4 separate regions of the Homo sapiens genome follow, and all the other regions are linked to region 1. Evidence: promoter capture Hi-C in human tissues and cell types (Jung and others, 2019). All regions are on one chromosome and are shown on one strand. The core of a region is centred on a gene start or on the middle of the fragment in contact, and the rest is flanking DNA. Distances in the headings are between cores, read along the strand shown. Region 1 holds the start of NRDE2 (NRDE-2, necessary for RNA interference, domain containing). Region 2 has its middle 15 kb from the start of LINC02321. Region 3 overlaps TTC7B (tetratricopeptide repeat domain 7B). Region 4 overlaps TTC7B (tetratricopeptide repeat domain 7B).

Region 1 (3,196 bases), core at 403-2,902:
TTAAAGTTGAAGACATACAGGAATTACTGCCCCTATTGTCATACTAAGCTCCTTTTTGTAAGTACTCTGCCAGGGACTTCAAAGCATTAAGGGTGTCTATTTTGGACTCATAGAACCTAATTCTTATGCAGGTCTGCAGACTTCATCAGAGTCCATCCATTCCTTGATTAGATGATTACATTTGCATCTCTGGTTTATAATGTATTTCCTAACTAAAGATCTTTAACTCCCTAGGATCCCAATAAATATATCTTCATTTACCTATCTATTTTCACTTGCAAATATTTCAGTATATATCTCTAATATATAAGAACTTTAAAAAGTAATCTCAGGCTGGGTTGGGGGGTGCTCAGGCACAGGCACCCAGCACTTTGGGAGGCAGAGGGGGGCAGATCGCTTGAGCCCAGGAGTTCGAGACCAGCCTGGGCAACATGGTGAAACCCTGTCTCTATTAAAAAAAAAAAAATTAAGCCAGACATGGTGGTGTATGCCTGTGGTTCCAGCCACTTGGGAGGCTGAGGTGAGGGGATTGCTTGAATCGAGGAGTTCGAAGCTGCAGTGAGCAGAGATCGTACCACTACACTCCAGCCTGGGTGGCAGAAGGAGACCTTGTCTCAAAATAAATAAATAAGGGTCACCTCAGTGACATAAGTACTTTAGTACATCTAACAGAATTCACAAGAATTACTTGTGAATTGCTTGTACTCTGCCTACCTTCTTATTTCTCCATCTATCTTAAAAAGGTCTTTTTACAGTTTGTCCAATCAGAATTATAATGAGGCCACAAATATGTTGTATTTGCTTGATGTGTCTGTAAGATCTTCGTATCTATTACAATCTCCTGCCCTCTTAAAGCCCTTGATATGTTAAGGAAGCACGGTTGTTTTCTATAATTTCCCATATTCTAGATTTGGCTAATTGTTTCTTGGTAGTACAAAGTCTTCTAAGTTGTTCCTTTACTCTCTATATTTCTGGTAGCAAGTGTGATTAGATTTTGGGTGGGAGGAACCGGGGTCAAGAATGCTTCACAGACAGGTATTTCCTAACTATCAAAGACCCTTGAACTTGATGGGACTTTCCATTTTTCCTTGTTCTGGGGTATTTAATATGGTAACCTGATTGAAGTTCGGATATCTCACATGACTTTGAGCCGAACTTGCAGTCGTAATTCACATAATAGCTAACACATATTAAGTGCTTTTCATGGGCCGGACTCAATGCTAGGCCCTTTATAAATATGTTCATTTAATCTTCTCAATATTTTGCAGATAAGGAAAGTAATGCTTAGAGCGTTTAAGTTGACCCAGTTAGCAAGGATGGTGTGAATTTAGGGGTCGAACTGGAATCCCAATTTCCTTAGTCCCTTTCGCGGTCAACAATTCCCTTCTCCGGTTTTCGCAGTTCCGGTTCTCACAGGGTCCCAACCACTAGGAACCCGTCACTCCTCGCTCCGCCCCCCTTGGCCCCGCCCCACCCTGCTTTGCCCTGCCTCTCCCTGCCCCGCCGCGCCCCAGTCCCTTGACGACCCTCCTCTCTGGGCCCCGCCCCTCCCGCTTCGGGGTCAAGCCCCAGAGAGCGCCGCGAAAACCACATTTCCCAGAGTGCACCGCGACGGCAGGGGTCCTCAGACCGGCGCTCGCTCGCCGGCGCCATCCCTATAGAGAAGAACGGAGGTACGGCCTGTGGTCATGGCGCTGTTCCCAGCCTTTGCGGGGCTTAGTGAGGCTCCCGATGGCGGGAGCTCCAGGAAAGGTAAGCACACAAACGAGCCGAAGAAGGCACCTGGGGGGCTTAAGAGGCTGTTTCTCGGGCCCAGGTCTAGACTTTTGCTTTGGATTTGTGTATCCATTTGTATCCCAGAGTTCTCCGCGGCGCTGCAAAGCCTTCTGGGAAAGGCTCAATCCCTCCGAGGTCTGGGGCCCAGAGGCCTGTTCTGGACCAAGGTTGTAGAGTTATGGAGGGGTGGAGAAAGACCAGCAGATGCCCTGGAGCTGGGACTTCTGTACGATGTTGTTAGGTCCTGTTCTTCTTTTCGAGCCTCAGTTACTTCATCTTTAAATTGGGAATAATGATACTCGACATCTCGAGGAAACCCTTGATGCAAATGCAGAATGTTTTTATTACATATTACTTCCTTTCCTGTTATACTTATTTCTGAAATGCTTATTAGATTGGTATTACTTAGCGGCCTAGAGCTAGGGGATTAGTATCCAAAACCTAATCAGTTTCTCTCTGGAGGGGCACAGCACCCAGTGAAAATAACTAACATTTATTCTTGAGGGCCTAGTGTGTATCAGGTTATGGCTTTACACATTTTACTTAAGTCCCAGACATTTCCAGCAGAGCTGCATTGTTCAAAATTGGGGTACATAGTTCATTTAAGAAGTAATTAATCCTGGCCAGGAGCAGTGGCCCACACCTGTAGGTGGAAGGATAGTTTGAGCCCGGGAGTTCATGACCATCATGATCAACATAGCGAGACTCCTGTCTCTTAAAAAAAAAGCCAGGCGTGGTGGTGCACACCTATAGTATCAGCTCCTCAGGAGGCTGAGGTAGGAGGATTGCTTGAGCCCAGAAGTTTGAGGCCGCAGTGAGCCATGATCGTGCCGCTGCATCCTGCCCTGGGGTGGGGGGACCTTGTCTCTAAAAAAAAAAGAAAAAAAAGTAATTCTAAATTATGTGCCATATGTGACAGGGCGCAATTGAGTCTTACCTGTCTGTTATATCCTCTAATATAGTTCCTACACTTTCTGTAACGTTTCTCCTAATTTTTTTTTTTTTTTTTGAGACAGGGTCTCACTCTGTTGCCCAGGCTGGAGTACAGTGGCACTGTCATAACTCACTGCCGCCTCAGACTCCTGGGCTTAACTTCCTGCCTCAGCCTCATGAATAGCTGGAACTACTGGTGTGCACCACCAGGCCTGGCTAATTTTTTTTAATATTTAGTAGAGACGAGGTCTCACTGTGTTGACCAGGCTGGTCTCGAACTCCTGAGCTCAAGCGATTCTCTATCTGAGCCTCCCAAAGTTCTAGGATTACAGGCATGAGCCACTGCGCTTGTCCTATTTCTCATAATTGTGAGTAATTTCTTGTGTAAAATTGTTGTCTTCCCTTACTAGACTGTAATCTCTATCAGGTTGGGCAGTGTTTGTCTATTCATTGTAGCATAGTTAGCCCCTAGCACAGGTCCAAAGTA
Region 2 (3,196 bases), core at 522-3,021, 510 kb before region 1:
TTAGCTGGGCGTGGTGGTGCACACCTGTAATCCCAGCTACTCGGGAGGCTGAGACAGGAGAATCACTTGAACCCAGGAGTCGGAGGTTGCCATGAGCCGAGATCATGGGTCTCATTTTGTCACCCAAGCTGGAGTACAGTGGCACAATCATGGCTCACCGCAGCCTTGAACTCCTGGGCTCAAGCGATCTCTTGCCTTAGCTTCCTGAGTAACTGGGACCATAGGCGTGTGCCACCACACCTGGCTAATTTTTTTTATTTTTTATTTTTTTGTAGCGACAAGGTCTCACCATGTTTTCTAGGCTGATCTCAAACTCCTGGGCTCAAGTGATCCTTCTGCCTCAGCCTCCCAAATTGCTGGGAATACAGGTGAGCCACTTCGTCTGGCCCATTTTGTGTTTCTTTAACTTTGGTCACCTATGCTGTGTTGTGTCCTGTGCTGAGCTTAAACTCAGGTGGGTGTAATGCTGACATCTCAGAGTCAGCCCCACGGATTACCAGCTAACCAGGGCAAATGTTTGGCTATTTATAAGACAGAGAAGAAGTAATCCCCAGGGTAAAACCAGAGGCCATCAAATGCAGTGGACTAAGCTACCGTGTAGAGGTGTGGGGGGAGGGGCTAGCCTTGGACCACTGATCACCACAGGGATAGCTCTGGCTGGCTGCTACCCCATCTGCATGTGGACTTTCTCTGCAGGATGTGGCAAAGGATGGTGAGCCACATACTCAGATTGAGTCAAGAATCTCATTTTTGTAAAAATAATGTATATAAAGCACCCCTGGGTGTTTTAGTAAATATCAGTGTTGATTCTATCCGACTTGTATTATCATTCCAGATGGTACAGCTGAGCCAAACCACCAGTCAGTCCTTCCCAGTTTGTGTCTTTGTGGCTGTTTGAGGCTCTAACTGGTGCTGATGAGTGCATCAAGAGCTCACAAGTGGCTGGGTGTGGTGGCACACACCTGTAATCCCAGCTACTCGGGAGGCTGAATGTGGAGGATCTGTTGAATCCAGGAGGTTGAGACTGCAGTGAGCTATGATCACACCACTGCACTCCAGCCCAGGTGACAGAGAGAGACCCCATCTCTTAAAAAAAAAATCAAAAATTAGACCAGGTGCAGTGGCTCATGCCTGTAATCCCAGCACTTTGGGAGGCCAAGATGGGCAGATCACTTGAGGTCAGGAGCTCGAAACCAGCCTGACCAATATGGTGAAACCCCGTCTCTACTAAAAATACAAAAATTAGCCAGGTGTTGTGGCGGGTACCTGTAATCCCAGCTGCTCAGGAGGCTGAGGCAGGAGATTCGCTTGAACCCGGGAGGTGGAGGTTGCAGTGAGCTGAGAACACGTGACTGCACTCCAGCCTGGGCGACAAAGTGAGACCCTGTCTCAAAAAAAAAAAATTAAGGTCAGGCGCGGTGGCTCACACCTGTAACCCCAGCACTTTAGGAGGCCAAGGCGAGCGGATCGCCTGAGGTCAGGAATTTGAGACCAGCCTGGCCAACATAGTGAAACCCCGTCTCTATTAAAAATACAAAAATTAGCCGGGTGTGGTGGTGGACACCTGTAATCCCACCTACTCAGGAGGCTGAGGCAGGAGACTTGCTTCAACCTGGGAGGCGGAGGTTGCAGTGAGCTGAGATCATGCCACTGCACTCCAGCCTACGTAATAGATCAAGACTCCGTCTCAAAAAAAAAAAAATTAAAATTAGAAAAACTCACAGGAAACAGATTAAGGTCACCCTGGGTCCCTCCATTGGTTCAAGTACAAGTGGCTAAAAAACAACCAAAATAGTAGATAGACCAGCCTGGCCAGAAGCCAGAAGCAGCCTGTGGTGGAAGGAAGACCCAGGGGAAGCCTCTGCCTCAAAGTCCCACCTGCTCAGCAGGTCTGCTCCCACCTCTCAGTGCTGCCTGAGTGCCAATCATTAGAGCATCAGACCTCTCTGGTCCTCAGTGTCCTTATCTGTAAAACAGGGGTAATGTTATCCTTCAGTCAGTTTTTCTCTGTAACAGTTCCTAAGGCTGCAGAAGACTGGAACATTCTCTGGGGTAATTCTTTATACTGTAGAGTCTAAAGAAAGTGTCTATAGAGTTGGGATGCTCCAAAAGCATAGTAGTTATTAATAGGCTGCCAAGACTGTGGGAGGGTGTAAAGCCAGTTGTACGCAACAAAGCTTTGAAAGGCAGCCTAGAACAGGAAGCGTCAGCATGTGCTGCAGACGTCAGGCATGGTGGCCCTGCATGAGATGTGGGCAGAGGGGAAGGCGCAGGCCTGGGCAGTACTTCACAATTTGGGCCTCAAGAGCTCCCCCCACCTCTACAGTGTGGTTATTATTAGGACGAGAAGGAGGTGCAGTAGACTGAAAAAATCCTCAGCTCAATGTACAAGGCTTCCCACGTTGCTGCAGGTGACCTATTTTGGATGCAGAAAAGCATGGTGATGCTGGGTGCGGTGGCTCACGCCTGTAATCCCAGCACTTTGGGAGGCCGAGATGGGTGGATCACGAGGTCAGGAGATCAAGACTATCCTGGCTAACATGGTGAAACCCCGTCTCTACTAAAAATACAAAAAAATTAGCCGGGTGTGGTGGCGGGCACCTGTAGTCCCAGCTACTCGGGAGGCTGAGGCAGGAGAATGGCGTGAAGCCAGGAGGTGGAGTTTGCAGTGAGCCAAGACCACGCCACTGCTCTCCAGCCTGGGCAACAGAGCGAGACTCTGTCTCAAAAAAAAAAATTAAATTAAATTAAATTTAAAAAAAGCATGGTGATAGGGATAGTAATTGCTAGCAATTTGAAAAACCTAGCAACTCTCCGGTGTCTTATCTGATCAGACATGGAAGCCATGTATAATCTTGGCCCACCTTGAATTGCTGTTGACCCTAAGCATATGAGCAAGTTCTGCAAAGCTCCAGTTAACAGTGTGAGGCTCTTTAAACAGGGATTCACACAGGAGCGCCAACTGCATTTCTTTTCTTTTCTTTTTTTTTTTGAGACGCAGTCTCACTCTGTTGCCCAGGCTGGAGTGCAGTGGTGCCATCTCAGCTCACTGCAACCTCCGCCTCCTGGTTTCAAGCGATTCTCCTGCCTCAGCCTCCCAAGCAGGTGGGATTACACATGTGTGCCACCATGCCCAGCTAATTTTTCTATTTTTAGTAGAGATGGGGTTTCACCATGTTGGCCACGCTGGTCTCGA
Region 3 (3,196 bases), core at 384-2,883, 340 kb before region 1:
TTGGGTTTGCACCTAGGAGTGGAATTGCTTGGTCATATGATAATTCTATGTTTAACTTTTTGAGGAACTGCCAGACTGTTTTTCACAGTGACTGTACCATTTTTACATTCCTACCAGCAATACACAGGTTTCTAATTTCTCCACTTCTTCACCAGCACTTGTTATTTTTAAATTATTATTAATATAGACATTCTGGTAGGTGTGATGTGATATCTCATTGTGGGATTGATTTTCTTTTCCCTGATAACTAATGATGTTGAGCATCTTTTTATGTGCTTATTGGCCATTTGTATATCTTCTTTGGTGAAACTACTATTCAAGTCTTTTGCCAATTTTAAAGTCTAAATAATAAACTCTGGTCAGCTATATTTTTAGAGATACCACACCTGCTTTTTTTTTTTTTTGTAGAGACGAGACTGTAGAAATCAGCTTGGGCTGGTCTCAGACTCTTGGCCTCAAGTGATCCTCCCGTCTTGGCTTCCTAAAGTGCTAGGATTACAGGCATGAGCTACCATGCCCAGCTTCACTTTCTTGAAATGTCTTTTGATGTGCAAAAGTTTTAAATCTTGATTAAGTCCAGTGTATCTATTTTTTATTTTGTTGCTTATGCCTTTGGTGTCATAACTAAGAATCCATTGCCAAATCCAAGGTCATGAAGGTTTAATTCTTTGTTTTCCTCTAAGGATTTTACAATTTTGCTCTTATATTTGAGCTGTTTGTCCATTTATAGTTTTTTTGTATATGGTGTGAGGTAGGAGTCCAACTCCATTCTTTTGCATGTGGAAATCCAGTTGTCCTAGCACCATTTGTTGAAAAAACTATTCTTTGCCCTATTCAATGGACTTGGCACCCTTATCAAAAACCAATTGGCCATAAATTTATGAATTTTTTCCTGGAATCTTAATTCTGTTCCTTTGGTCTGTATATGTATCTTTATGTAATACCATACTATTTTAATTTCTGTAGCTTAGTAGTAAGCTTTGAAATCAGAAAGTATGAGTCCTTTAACTTTGTTCTTTTTCCAGTTTGTTTCTGGATCCCTTACAATTCCATATGAGTTTGAGGATTGGCTTTTCCATTACTGCAAAAAAAAAAAAAAAAAAAAAAAAAAAGTTGAAATTTTGATAGGGATGCATTGAATTTATAGATCACTTTGGATGACATTGCCGTCTCAACAATGCCTCATAGTTTAACATCAGACCTGTGTGATAATCTCAGTTCTGCTACTTTACATGCTGAATATGAACTTGAACAGATTCCATTACCTCGCTGAACCTGTCCCCTTATATGGAAAACATAGATAATAATAAGATCTACCTTGGAATGTTATTGTGATGATTAAAGAGATAATGTATGTTACTGCAAGAAGTGCATGTTACTATTGTTATTGGTGGCATTAATAATCTGCTTTCTAATGTAAAAATCTCCTTTGTATGAAATAATAACTCTGGCAGATGATCCTTGACCCTTATATAGGGAAGTACCCATTGTACAGTAAAAAAAATTCAGCCCTGGAGTCAGGGAGATCTGTGTTCAAATTCTGGCTCTGCCCTTTCCTAGCTGTGAGACTTTGAGAAATATACTTGGCTACTCTGAGCTCCTACCTCAGAGACTGTTAGGAAGCTCAATAAGATAATGGCTATAATGTAGCTAGCACAGCAATTGATGGGTAATATATATTGTTCGATTCCTCTTTGGTTATTAGAAAGGATTGATCTAAAATGAGTTTCCTTGTAATTTCTACCTATTCTGTCTTTTTGGAGCAGTAGGGCAAGTCCAGCCCCACCTCACTGACAGTCTACCAATTTTTTTTTTTTTTTTGGTTGGTCTTATTATCTATTTTGAGCAGGTAATATTTGCACAAGGGAAGTATTACAACAGAGCCAAGGGGAAACATGAAGAAGAAGTTACTTGTGTATTCTTCTAAAGACTGACTATGAATCCACAGGCCACTATGCATATGTGTGTGTTCCCCTTCAGTGCAAAAGTAGCATGCCACAGGACATAAAATCTATGTTTTATCCAGCTGGTGATCTATCCTGAAGATTGTACCAGATTCATGTGTCTAGATCTGCCTCTTTTCACAGGTGGGAGAATGTTCCATAGTAAAGATGCCCTGGTAATGGATGGCTCCTTCTCCCTATTGAGTCCACCAAATTTTGAAGACAGTTGTCATATTGTCTTTTTTCCTTCAGCCTAAAGTGCCCCCAGTTCCTTTAGAACAAGGGTCAGCAAATTAAAGCGTCAGATGCTAAATATTTTAGGCTTCAAAGGCTAAGAGACAAAACCAAGAATAGCATGTAGGTATAACGAGAGAAAACAAATTTCTGCAAAATTTTAATCAATGAAACTCAAAATATAATGAGTACAACTTTTGTAATATAGATCCATGCATGAGAAGAATGGGGTTGTTTGCGGGGGTAGGGGATAACATTTTGCTTAATTTGGGTTTAAAGTTAATACCCCCTCTCACCAAATTGATGGTGTATGTTCAGCTATAAACGCAATTCTTAACTTTTGGGCTCTAAAAGCAAGCAGTAGGTCATAATGGGCCCTCAGGCCATAGCTCAGCGACCCTGCTTCTGTCCTTTCTGCTATGTCGTTGTCTCCAGTCTTGGCAACTCCAGTACTCCTCCCTGCCTCCATGTTTGCTGTGGCCCTCCTTAAAGGATCTCCAAAAGAATGGATCCCAATTCTCTGTCCAGCCTTCATTCAAGCATTTACCATGCAACTATTTTGTACGTGGTATGTCCCAGGCTGCCGCACTCTCAACTCCTTACTTCCTCCCTTAGTCCTGGCATGGGCTAAGTGGCAGCCATGGTTGAAGGGTTAAAACCCAGTGCCCCAAGCCAGGGAAGAGAGACTGAAAAGACCAAAAGGTGAGAGGCAATTGAGGAGACAGGAGGAATGGAATGCCCATTTTGTGAATTCACTGCATTTTGCAAGGAACAGCTACATTGGCAAAGCAGCAGATGGAGTAGTATTTGAGTAGGACCCCGGAGACCCCTTACTCAATGTGCAAGCTTGGTCTACTTGATTCGTAGAGTTGAGAGGAGAGCATGCCAGAAAACCGCATCCAGCATTCAAATTCTATAATAAAATCTGTGACCTTTGAAAACAACCCACTCTACTCCTCTCACTGTGGCCAGAGGCAATGATATCCTTTAAGTGTTTGCCAAAGCAATAAAACTCTGAG
Region 4 (3,196 bases), core at 436-2,935, 320 kb before region 1:
TGATCAGTGGTTTCAGTGAGTCTGAAACTCTTCCGTCTCATTTCTGTTTCCTAGCAGGCTTGCCGGTAGCTACTTCAGGTTGCCAGCCCCAGTCTGGGTATTGACAAAAAGTACCAACTGACATCTGCAAACAGATCTCCTGTCTCTGTGCTAAGCTTTTGTTGATGTTCCTCAGCACGGAGTGTGGAAAGCATTTCCATTTCAAATGATTTGGAGTTTTAAATTCTCCAGTCCTAGTTTGTAAAACCCACACATGGATGCTTAAGAAAGTGGTCATTACATCTGTTTCACTTTTCTTAAATCAGCACATCTTACTGGCTCTCTAAAAACAGCCACAGTGGTGGTCTGCCTTGAGCTGCCAGTATAACTTCATGTTATATAACAGCTGCTCCATTGGCCTGAATTCTTTTTTGTTCATCTTTTGCTTAAGTTTAAATTCGAAGAGATTTTTAAAATATTAGTTCATATGGGAATAAAGAGTAATAAAATCCCGCTAACCTAACTGATGATATTGCAGAAGGCTAACCTAAATTAGAATTTGTGTGAAATATAGAATGTTTTTCATTTTATTTCAAGTACACATTAACTAGGACTATTCTAGTGAATTGCAGTCCTAACAAAAATCTTTAAGGGAAAGATTTTAAGTAAGTGAAAATGATTTGTATTACTTCTTAAATGTAAATGGATAATTTAAAACTACTTTGATGAGAAGTACTTTCTCTACTATTTGTTTTAAATATTCTCCCCACAATTCTGTTTATACTAATGTTTTGCATTTTTTGTTTAAAAAGAAAACACAATTCAGGAAGGGATGGGGTTGCAGATATAGCACAAGAAAGTTAACTCTTAATTATGACTGCCAGAATTCAGACATATTTGTTCTCTAGTGGATCCAAAGAGGTGATTTTTGAAGACATCCAGGTTGGGTGGCTGCATCTGAATGTGAGACCCTCACCTGTTCCTACACTCATAAGCTCAACCCAGGCAGCTGAACCAATTCATTTGCCCTGTACTAAAGTATAGTGAAGAAGAACATAATATTGTTTGCAAAGCTTCTGAAGATGCTGAATTGATATGACTTGCTTCTTCTGCAGGCTCTCACATCCTACTGAGAAAAGCCATCCTGAAAACAGTTGAGAGCACCTTTCATTGCATGGCCCACAGTATGCATAAAGCCTGGTGCTCCAGGAGGCAGGGGTGGCATGGTGGTGTTTGTTTATCACTCATTGTGGCACAGGGTACACGATCTTGCTTTGCTTTCCCCTTTCTGTCCTAGCTTGAGTTTAAGTGTGGTATGATGTGTGCATATAGGGTGATCAGCCATCCCAATCTCTTGAGGACTGAGCGTTTTCCCAGAACATGGGACTTGCAGTGCTAAAATCAGGAACATCCTGGACAAACCAGGACAAGTTGGTCACCCTGTGTGAGTAACTAACGAGAGATTCCTGAGCAATAGATTTAACCAGGGTTTGCACTTTTTAAAAAACTTAATGCACGAATCCCATGGCCCCTGTAATCAGGACTGAAGGGAAATTCAAGGAGAATTGGCTAAACAAGGCAGCAAGGTTCTGGCTTTCTCTCATTTGCTGGCTGTTCTTGGACAAGAAGCGTAATAGTCGATAACTTCACAAATTGTAGTTACTATTGTTACAAGATATGTGTCTTATGGACTAGGGTCAGCATTGATCAGCCTTCTCTATATTCTTGGTTCAGCTCTAGAGAATGTTGGAAATGGAATCTAAGAGAGCCCTGGGTTAGATGCCACAACATCCTTGGGTTCTAGCCAGGTGATCTGGGAAGCCCATCCGATGCTTTCCAGTAGCAGCCCAGCATGCCTATCTCTGGGCACTGCTCCCACTGCACGATGATGATGGTCATTCTGGGTCTCTCCCTCTGGGGCGGGGGTGGGAGCTCATCAAGGAAAGGCACTAGCATGATTCATCTCCATGCTCCCCAGAAGTTAGCATAGGGCCTGGCATCACATTATAGATATTGCATAATGTGGATGGGTGGATGGTGGATGGATGGGTAGGTGGATGGTTGGATGGTGGATGGATGGATAGGTGGATGGGTGGGTGGTTGGCTGGGTGGATGGGTGGGTAAGTGGATAAAAGGATGAGTGGGTTCTTCTTCATGGGAGAGAAACTGAATTAATTATGTGGAGGTGCTTTGATAAGGGAAGCATTTTGTGAGCATCCTTGTGGTGACATTTTTAGGTCTTTTAGGTATTTCTGAGCAGTCTAGCCAGGTGTTCAGTTTATGGGCACGGAGTTTATGAGGCTGCTTTAGATTCATTTACAGAGTTCAGAAGGCTTGCAATTTTTCTGATCACTAATGTCCTCTCTCTCATCTGCCTGGCCTGAGGATTTCTGTCCGGCGAGTTGCCTGTGGCATACCAAAGGGGCTTTCCCACAGGAAGCTTAGCTGCTGAAGTTGCTCCACGGGAAGCAAGTATTTTAGCATCTACTTGAGATCAACACAGGGAGCTTTTTCTTGTTTTGTTTGGCATTTGCCTTATTTCCTTCAGAGGGTGAAGTGGTCAGTTGAATTCATTAGCCAAGTTGTAGAAATAAGGTTTTTAAAATGTATATGTTTCAGTTGTGCCTCATTAGAAATTTGGCAGTTGAATATGCATCATTAGCCAAGTTGGAAATCCTTCAGATGTTGCCCTAATGCACTCCAGAAATACCAAGATTTCTAGCACTTCTGGTTTGTTCCTTTCACGGTGCTGTGGTTAACAGAGAAAAATCATTTGATGAGGCCAGCATGGGGCCTTTAGCCAGAACTATCTTTATGTACACCCTCAACTCAACAGATCATTGCCAGCTTTTCAGTTGGTTGGTATTGCATAGAGGCAACCATGACTTGATTTATTCGTGAAGAATATGAATTGAACTGAGAAAATTATAATTCTAAGAAGTTCTTTTTGAGGGTTCTGTAAATTTATTATTTGTGAAAGAAGATAAAATAAATCTAAAAATTTCTTCATAATTGTGTATTATTTTTCCTGAATAATTATGAGAGAAACCATGATTTTTCAATCTCACTTTTATAAACACCAAAGAAAAATATTCTTTGATGTACAAATTCATGGAAAGCCAATATTTGTAAAATTATAAAAGCTGCTATATACTGAGTGGACCTTAGAAATAAGCCATTTAGTAGCTGGGCGTGGTGGCTTATGCCTGTAATCCCA

The links. The method cuts DNA at HindIII sites, captures the fragments that hold promoters and counts their contacts. A contact is called where the count stands out against the background at its distance.
Region 2: a fragment that was not itself captured here is called in contact with the fragment with the promoter of NRDE2 in region 1 in 1 of the 25 tissues and cell types used here (dorsolateral prefrontal cortex).
Region 3: a fragment that was not itself captured here is called in contact with the fragment with the promoter of NRDE2 in region 1 in 4 of the 25 tissues and cell types used here (dorsolateral prefrontal cortex, hippocampus, mesenchymal stem cells and 1 more).
Region 4: a fragment that was not itself captured here is called in contact with the fragment with the promoter of NRDE2 in region 1 in 2 of the 25 tissues and cell types used here (dorsolateral prefrontal cortex and hippocampus).

Annotation. Positions count from the first base shown.
Region 1 is chr14:90,330,397-90,333,592 of GRCh38, reverse strand. NRDE2 (NRDE-2, necessary for RNA interference, domain containing) reads left to right here and starts at 1,652. Exons shown (of 14, transcript NM_017970.4): 1 at 1,652-1,752. The coding sequence starts at 1,689. RefSeq lists a silencer at 1,419-1,568 and an enhancer at 1,719-1,898. The HindIII fragment of the contact is 6,388 bases long and covers 1-3,196 here.
Region 2 is chr14:90,841,960-90,845,155 of GRCh38, reverse strand. No RefSeq gene overlaps it. Among named protein-coding and RNA genes, the nearest start is that of LINC02321, 15 kb to the right of the region's middle. The HindIII fragment of the contact is 3,190 bases long and covers 177-3,196 here.
Region 3 is chr14:90,666,744-90,669,939 of GRCh38, reverse strand. All of the region lies in intron 9 of TTC7B (tetratricopeptide repeat domain 7B), which reads left to right. Among named protein-coding and RNA genes, the nearest start is that of TTC7B-AS1, 26 kb to the right of the region's middle. The HindIII fragment of the contact is 4,615 bases long and covers 1-3,196 here.
Region 4 is chr14:90,648,619-90,651,814 of GRCh38, reverse strand. The region is part of intron 13 of TTC7B (tetratricopeptide repeat domain 7B); the gene reads left to right. TTC7B-AS1 (TTC7B antisense RNA 1) reads right to left here. Exons shown (of 5, transcript NR_110134.1): 5 at 2,924-3,196. Among named protein-coding and RNA genes, the nearest start is that of TTC7B-AS1, 7.6 kb to the right of the region's middle. The HindIII fragment of the contact is 3,294 bases long and covers 39-3,196 here.